Regions from separate parts of the Homo sapiens genome. Here region 1 is linked to region 2. Evidence: promoter capture Hi-C in 16 types of primary human blood cells and fetal thymus (Javierre and others, 2016). All regions are on one chromosome and are shown on one strand. Each heading gives the region's core, a stretch centred on a gene start or on the middle of the fragment in contact. The rest is flanking DNA. Distances are from core to core; before and after follow the strand shown.

What was found. The method cuts DNA at HindIII sites, captures the fragments that hold promoters and counts their contacts. A CHiCAGO score of 5 or more calls a contact.
Region 1: a contact is called between a fragment that was not itself captured here and the fragment with the promoter of KRT5 in region 2, in 6 of 17 cell types (M1 macrophages, M2 macrophages, M0 macrophages and 3 more). The highest score is 8.0, in M1 macrophages.

The regions. Positions count from the first base shown.
Region 1 is chr12:52,967,183-52,971,282 of GRCh38, reverse strand. No RefSeq gene overlaps it. Among named protein-coding and RNA genes, the nearest start is that of KRT18, 20 kb to the right of the region's middle. RefSeq lists an enhancer at 1-60. The HindIII fragment of the contact is 7,174 bases long and covers 1-4,100 here.
Region 2 is chr12:52,519,144-52,523,127 of GRCh38, reverse strand. KRT5 (keratin 5) reads left to right here and starts at 2,734. Exons shown (of 9, transcript NM_000424.4): 1 at 2,734-3,386; 2 at 3,968-3,984. The coding sequence starts at 2,832. RefSeq lists enhancers at 1-827, 3,647-3,984. The HindIII fragment of the contact is 4,587 bases long and covers 1-3,872 here.

The sequences.
Region 1 (4,100 bases), core at 1,472-3,971, 450 kb before region 2:
GCCCAGGTGGGCGGATCACCTAAGGTCGGGAGTTCAAGAGCAGCCTGACCAACATGGAGAAACCCCATCTCTACTAAAAATGCAAAATTAGCTAGGCACAGTGGTGCATGCCTGTAATCCCAGCTACTTGGGAGGCTGAGGCAGGAGAATTGCTTGAACCCAGGAGGCGGAGGTTGCGGTGAGCCGAGATCGTGCCATTGCGCTCCAGCCTGGGCAACAAGAACGAAACTTCGTCTCAAAAAAAAAAAAAAAAAAAAAAGTATAAATAACTTCATGTTAGGTTTTGCATGTGAGTTATGAAGAATTTTTGGTTTTCAGAGTTTTTTGGGGTTTGAAAGTATTAGATAAGGAATTGAACAATACTATAGAGCCTTTTAAGGGTGATTTTGTATTACTTGATAGGAGCTTGAAGAAGCCAGAGAACTTGTGTTGAAGGGCTGGGTTAGGGTGACAGAGGCCTGAAAGTGGTGGCAGATGAGTGACAGCTCCAGGGAACCCCAAGAAGGCTTTGATTTGACCACGGCTGTGACCATCCGGTCAACAGAAGTATGCCATAGTCCTGAGGTGCTCCTTGTGGCTGGGTCTGGTGCTAGACAGGGCTAAAGGCAGCACCAAAGTGGGCAGTAGGCCTTTGAGACCCCGACTGGACAGAGCCACACTCTTCAGGCAGGATGCTGTCTCCTTATCTAGGCTTGGGGTCTTGGGGCAGCCGGAGGGTTGGCATCCTTGATTATAGCCACAGGGATGAGACCTTTTTGTTTTGTGCTTTGGCTCAGCTCAGCCCCACTGCATGCCTGGCTGCTCCCACCAGCTCAAGATTATCTCTCTGGTGACGTGCTGCCTGGGGCTTGGCATGTACCCACCCCTGCGATCTTGCCCCTGCTGCAGCCAAGAGCAAAGTTTCAGTCTCTGGGACCCCAGCCAGACAACTCAAGGAGAGCCAATGAACTTGTATTTATGCAGTACCTACTAGCTGCCAGGCATGCAGCCAAGCCTTGGGGACTTTGTTCTCATTATTTTCTCACCTTTCCCACTGCACAAGTCTTAGCATCTCTCAGGTTTCACTTCTGCCACAAATCATGGCCATCATCCTCCCCGTGAACACCTGCAGCATTTACTGCCATGACATTCCTTGGCTTTGAATTAACCTCGTGACCTTTCTTGTATCTTTATGTTCTTAGGGCCGAACCTGAGGGTGGGGACCTGGGTCTAAGCTGTCCCACTGGTGGGCACCTTCCCTTCCTTTCCTGAACATTTTTGGAATGTAGGAGTGACCCCAGAGGAGGATTACAAAGCCCTTCTTCAAAGGAGAGGTTGAAAGTGGTGCCCGGGTTCTATAAACATTTGCACTGAGCATTCCTAAATGACAGGGAGATTTATAGTTTGAGTGCCTTCCCATTACGAAGACTGTTTAAGTGACTTGGGAAAGTTTCTTTAAAAAGAAAAAAAAATGGAGCAGATTAAGATGAGATTTTATTTTTCTTTTTTTCCTTAAAAAGAAAAAAAGGCTAGGCGAGGTGGCTCATGTCTGTAATCCAAAGGCTAGGTGAGGTGGCTCATGTCTGTAATCCCAGAACTTTGGGAGGCCGAGGTAGGTGGATCATTTGAGGTCAGGCGTTTGAGACCAGCTTGGCCAACGTGGTGAAATCCTTGTCTCTACTAAAAATACGAAAATTAGCTGGGCGTGGTGGTGCACACCTGTAATCCCAGCTACTGGAGAGGCTGAGGCGGGAGAATCGCTTGAATCTGGGAGGTGGAGGTTGCAGTGAGCTGAGAAGCCGAGACCACGCCACTACACTCCAGCCTGGGTGACAGAGTAAGACTCCGTCTCAAAAAAAAAAAAAAAAACAAATTCTTCCTGGGCTTTCTTAAAGCTGGGGTGTGTGTGAAGCGAAGCTGAGGAAGTTCAATTGTTCTCCCACTAAGTTCTCTTTCCTGGAACAAAGAGGACCTGCAAAGAGAGTGAGAGGACTGCTGGCATCTTGAAATATTCTTCTACTCTCCTTTGTCCTCTTTTCCTTGGGTGAGGCATGCAGAGACTCCTCTTGGTTTGTTATTTGCTCATTTATTTGTTCATTCATTTGCTTATTCATTCAAAAGCTAGTAAGAGAAGATTGTTAAATTTGAAAATTTTGCTTCCCAGAATTAAACCATTTTAAATCAACCATGACAGCAGTATTTATACCTTGGATATTGGCAAATGCTATAGGTTATTAAATAAAATAAAATAACATTTTATTTACAATTTAATAAAAATTACAATTTCAAATTTTTGTCTTTAAAAAAGAAAATAACAACCTGCTGTTTATGTGTTGGAATTGTGTTATGTATCAGGGCATAAGAGTGAACAAGATAGTCCAGTCTCTGCTCAAAGGGAGCTTACAGTCTGGTGCTGCACTGTCCTGTCCAATCTGGTAGCCATTAGCTACTAGCTACTGCTGTGGTTATTAATTTATTTTTTAAAGTTTTTAATTTTGGCTGAGTCTGGTGGCTCATGCCTGTAATCCCAGCGCTTTGGGAGGCCGAGGCAGGTGGATCACCTGAGGTTAGGAGTTCGAGACCAGTCTGGCCAACATGGCGAAACCCCGTCTCTACTCCAAATCCAAAAAAAAAAAAAAAAAAAAAAAATTAGCCAGGTGTGGTGGTGGGCGCCTGTAATCCCAACTACTCGGAAGACTGAGGCAGGAGAATCACTTGAACCTGGGAGGCGGAGGTTGCAGTGAGCCGAGATTGAGCCAGTGCACTCCAGCCTGGGCAACAAGAGTGAAACTCTGTCTCAAAAAAAAAAAAGTTTTTAATTTTTGTGGGTACCCAGTATGTGTATCTATTTTAGGGTACACGAGATATTTTGATACAGGCATACAATGCATAATAATCTCATCAGGGCATCCATCACTTCAAGCATTTATCCTTTATGTTACAAACAATCCAATTATACTCTTTTAGTTATTTTTAAATGTACAATAATTTATTTTTTTTGAGACGGAGTCTTGCTCCATTGCCCAGGCTGGAGTGCAATGGCATGATCTTGGCTCACTGCAACCTCTGCCTCTCGGGTTCAAGCAATTCCCCTGCCTCAGCCTCCCGAGTAGCTGGGATTACAGGCATGCACCACCATGCCTGGCTAATTTTTGTATTTTTAGTAGAGACGGGGTTTTACCATGTTGGTCAGGCACGTCTTGAACTCCTGTCCTTGTGATCTGCCCGCCTCAGCCTTCCAAAGTGCTGGGATTACAGGCATGAGCCACTGCACCCAGCCTTAGGCTGGTGCTTTTTAAACTTTTTTTGCTTCTGGGGAGTGGGTGATAGGGAAAGTTCTGCCAGCCTGGGAGGGGCCCACTAGAGCCTGCTGCTCCAGTGTGGATTGTGGGGAGAGGAAAAGGAACTGTGTGCTTTGGGCCCAGATCACTGGAGTGCCCTGAGTCTCTGAGAAGTTTACCCTACATCCCTCCTGTGGCAGCACCATCCACTTCACCAGGATCTGACCAGGGCCTTCAGGGGGACACAGCCTCCCCGGATCTGAGCATCACTATCATTCTAATTCCTTGGGCTGTTTCTGTGTAGATAATTATTTTCCAGCTCATTCAGGCAGGTGAGGTTGAGGCCAGCAGTGCAGCTAAATCCTTACACCGTGACTGGGGCTGCTTTTATACAGGTTAGGGGAAGAATAATCACTTATGGCTGAAATCTAATGGAAGAGGGAGTTCTGTGTAACTCTAGTGGGCAGAGCTGAGTTTAGAAGGTTAGTAGGAGGCAGATTTCAGCCCAGTAGAAGGAACAATAATGTTCCAGTAATTATACAATTATTATCCAACAGGGGCTATACTGTCATAAATTCTTCAAACGGAGGCCAGATGTTAGGAAGGCCACAAAGAGGATTCCTACTGGGAGAGGCCAAACTTGAACCATCTGTTTATTTATTTTATTTTATTTATTTATTTTTTTGAGAATGGAGTTTCACTCTTGTCACCCAGGCTGGAGTGCAATGGCACAAACTTGGCTCACTGCAACCTCCGCCTCCCGGGTTCAGGTGATTCTTTTGCCTCAGCCTCCCAAGTAGCTAGGATTACAGGCATGCACCACCACGCCTGGCTAATTTT
Region 2 (3,984 bases), core at 1,485-3,984:
CACCCTCTCCCTGGTGTCTGTGAAGGGCTTCTCCATGTATGAAATGCTGACCAGGTCCTACATTCCCTGCACAGCTCTGCGAGAGAGGTCAGGGCAGCCAGCTTACTGTCCTTTCTCTGATGGGGAGAGCAGCAGGGCGGGCCCTGCACTGTCTTCTGCTGACAAGGAAAGCAGCACCCAGAGGAGAAGCTGAGCAACATGTCCCACCAAGCCTGGGAACTGCCTCTGTGGGGTGCCCAGCAGGAAAGCTCCCTGGTGAGCCTAACACAATCCCTCCCTTCCTGCCACAGTGAAATTCCAGGCTGGGGTGGGACTCTCCCGAGCTGCAGTGGTGCTGGTGCCTGGCTCCCCACCAGGAGCGGCTCCATTATTTATACCTGTCCAGGTCTGGCATTGAGGGAGGGGCTGCCCTGCCTGCTCATGGGAGGATTCCCACGAAGCTCGGATAGAAGAGTGCTGCTGCTTCTCCCATGGAGCACCCACATGCTCCCTGCTCCCATGGAGCACCACACACTCACCGTTGGTCCCTGGCACATGGATCTGAGCTTGGCACACTCTAGCAATCCTCAGACTAGCCAGAACGCATTCCTGCTCTGCCAAGTCCTCTTTCTTCACAACACAGCTGGGAGGAGAATGAATGGGGAGAAGAGAATGTCCCAGTGTCTCAGGAGGGGTGGGGCTTCCCTGAGGGCAGTGAGGTCTGTACCCGGGACCTGTGAGTGTATGTGGTGGTGGGGATATACCCCGATATCGATCTTTGAGTGGAGCAGGAGCATCCCACTACGAGTCCTCAGACACTTGCTTCAGGCTTGGATCTGTTCTGTTCTATCAGGAGCCGAGGGTCCCCTGGTATGTCTCAGGCCTCCAGGACACTCACATCTGTTCTCCAGAAAGCAACCAAATGTGAAAATGGTGAGCTCAGCACAATTCATCTCTGAGGGTCTCAGAAATGCTCCAGCCAGGGAGGCCACCCAAACCATTTTGCTCAAGACCTGTAAGACCGGCTCCGGCCATTGGTCTGTCTGCCGAGATTGACCTGTCAGCTGCTTGCTCATCGCAGCCCTCTGGTGAGAAGTCACTGTTTCAGCTGATCCTCAGCACCAGGGAGTCATTTTCCCACTGCCTTGGCTTCCTTGTGGCCAACCGCAGGCCCTGGTGAGAGATTCCTGAGCCTGGGTCTGGTCCTGTTCTTCTACTCTTGAGAATATAGCCCCTCCTCCCTGAGGCTTTGAAGCCATCCCCATTGCATTCCTACCTCCAGCCTCGGGCCACAGGGCGCCCCCGAAACTCTGAACAGCCCAAGCACTGTCCTGCCTGAGAGCCCTGCTTCTATTTGGGGGACGGCAGAGAGGTGGCCCCACTCAGATCTGCTGCCAAAAAGAGTGGGTGTGGTTTAGAACAGACGTGTGTTAAAACCTCATCAGAAACCCCCTTTCCTCCACCTGGTGCCACAACCCCCCAGACAAGTTTTGCAGAGGGGATCTCAAAGGGCCCTCCCTAAAGCAGCTGGCAGATTGTCATGCCAGCTGCCTGGGCCCACAGGCCTGCTCTGGCTAGCCTTTCTGGCAGGACAATCCATAGACTTAGAATCCCGTTTTCCATTGCCTTGGCCCTGAAGGAGGCTGTGGGCTACAGCATAGAGAAAGCAGAGCAAGTCCCGCTGCTTGGAACAGGGTGGTTCGCCGTTATAACAGGCCGTCAGACTCTCAACATGTTCCTGATGAGATTAGAAGCTCCTGCAGGTATGTGTTTGTGGCGGCCTTCAGCCTGTATCAACACATACGATGACTCATTTCTTCCCTAGTGGAATAGAGCTTGCTGGAACACACCTGGGGGGCTGGGGAACCGGCAGAGTAGCTACCCCCAAAGAGAGACGCTATAGCCCATGAGTCTCAGGGTTTTTTTTTAAGGGATTGCATGGGATCCCCGGGTTTCCTAAACCCCCCACAGAGTCCTGCCCAGGCCAAAGAGCAAGGAAAAGGTCAAAGGGCAGAAAAAATGCTGAGTTAGGAGGAGCTATGGAAGGATAAACCTGGCCTTAAAGAGGTCAAAGTGGTTTATAGGGGGCGCTGAGGGCTTCCCACATTCTCTGGCCTAAACCTTGCAGGCAGATCTGCCCAGTGGGCTCTGGGATAGCTGTGCCTTCCCTAAGAAAAAAATTGTGCAGAAAAGGATGAAACTCTATTTTCCCTCTAGCACATAACCAAGAATATAAGGCTACAGATTGCCTTTCCCAGAGGGGAAAACCCTGCAGCAACCTGCTGCCTGGAAAAGTGTAAGAGCAGATCACTGGGGAATCGTTTGCCCCCCGCTGATGGACAGCTTCCCCAAGCTGGAAGGGCAGGTGCTCAGCATGTACCGTACTGGGATGGTTGTCAATACTCCTGGTCCTGTAAGAGTCCCCAGGACACTGGCCATGCCAATGCCCCCTCAGTTCCTGGCATCCTTTTTGGGCTGCTCACAGCCCCCAGCCTCTATGGTGAAGACATACTTGCTAGCAGCGTCACCAACTTGCTGCCAAGAGATCAGTGCTGCAAGGCAAGGTTATTTCTAACTGAGCAGAGCCTGCCAGGAAGAAAGCGTTTGCACCCCACACCACTGTGCAGGTGTGACCGGTGAGCTCACAGCTGCCCCCCAGGCATGCCCAGCCCACTTAATCATTCACAGCTCGACAGCTCTCTCGCCCAGCCCAGTTCTGGAAGGGATAAAAAGGGGGCATCACCGTTCCTGGGTAACAGAGCCACCTTCTGCGTCCTGCTGAGCTCTGTTCTCTCCAGCACCTCCCAACCCACTAGTGCCTGGTTCTCTTGCTCCACCAGGAACAAGCCACCATGTCTCGCCAGTCAAGTGTGTCCTTCCGGAGCGGGGGCAGTCGTAGCTTCAGCACCGCCTCTGCCATCACCCCGTCTGTCTCCCGCACCAGCTTCACCTCCGTGTCCCGGTCCGGGGGTGGCGGTGGTGGTGGCTTCGGCAGGGTCAGCCTTGCGGGTGCTTGTGGAGTGGGTGGCTATGGCAGCCGGAGCCTCTACAACCTGGGGGGCTCCAAGAGGATATCCATCAGCACTAGTGGTGGCAGCTTCAGGAACCGGTTTGGTGCTGGTGCTGGAGGCGGCTATGGCTTTGGAGGTGGTGCCGGTAGTGGATTTGGTTTCGGCGGTGGAGCTGGTGGTGGCTTTGGGCTCGGTGGCGGAGCTGGCTTTGGAGGTGGCTTCGGTGGCCCTGGCTTTCCTGTCTGCCCTCCTGGAGGTATCCAAGAGGTCACTGTCAACCAGAGTCTCCTGACTCCCCTCAACCTGCAAATCGACCCCAGCATCCAGAGGGTGAGGACCGAGGAGCGCGAGCAGATCAAGACCCTCAACAATAAGTTTGCCTCCTTCATCGACAAGGTGAGCTACGATCTTTTGTAAAAAATCACTGTGGGTCTGAAATAAATGCCAAAGAGAGAGAAAGAAGGAAGATGTTTTGGCTTTGTGCAAATACTTTTATAGTTGTACAGTTCTGTGTTTCCGTTTGTTTCTGTGCCCTGGATTTGTGGACACGTTCTGAATTAGACTGGCAGCTGGGAAGGGAGAATTATTTCTTCCCATTCAGAGGTTAGCTCACAAGGGCCTCTTAACAACTGTTGGACAGAGAGATGAATTTCATGCCATATATAAAGGGGCTGACTGTACAGGAAGGTAGACAAGTGCATGGGCAGCAGCCTGAGTGCCTTTGCAGCCACCCCTGAGCCGGGACACACTCCAAGCAGCACTCCTAGTGCTTTCTGTGCCCTGGATAGGTGTCCTATCTCCCCCTGGAAAAGTGAGTTTGGGTGCCTCAGTCTGCACCTCCCCTCCTGGGGCCCAGGGCCAGGCACAGTGCACAGAAAAGCTTTAGAGGGACGGAAAGAGGTGGGAGGCACCTTAGTGAGTTGATCATAGAACATGAAATCCAAGTTTCTCTATCTTCAAACCCTGCTCCCCTCCAGGTGCGGTTCCTGGAGCA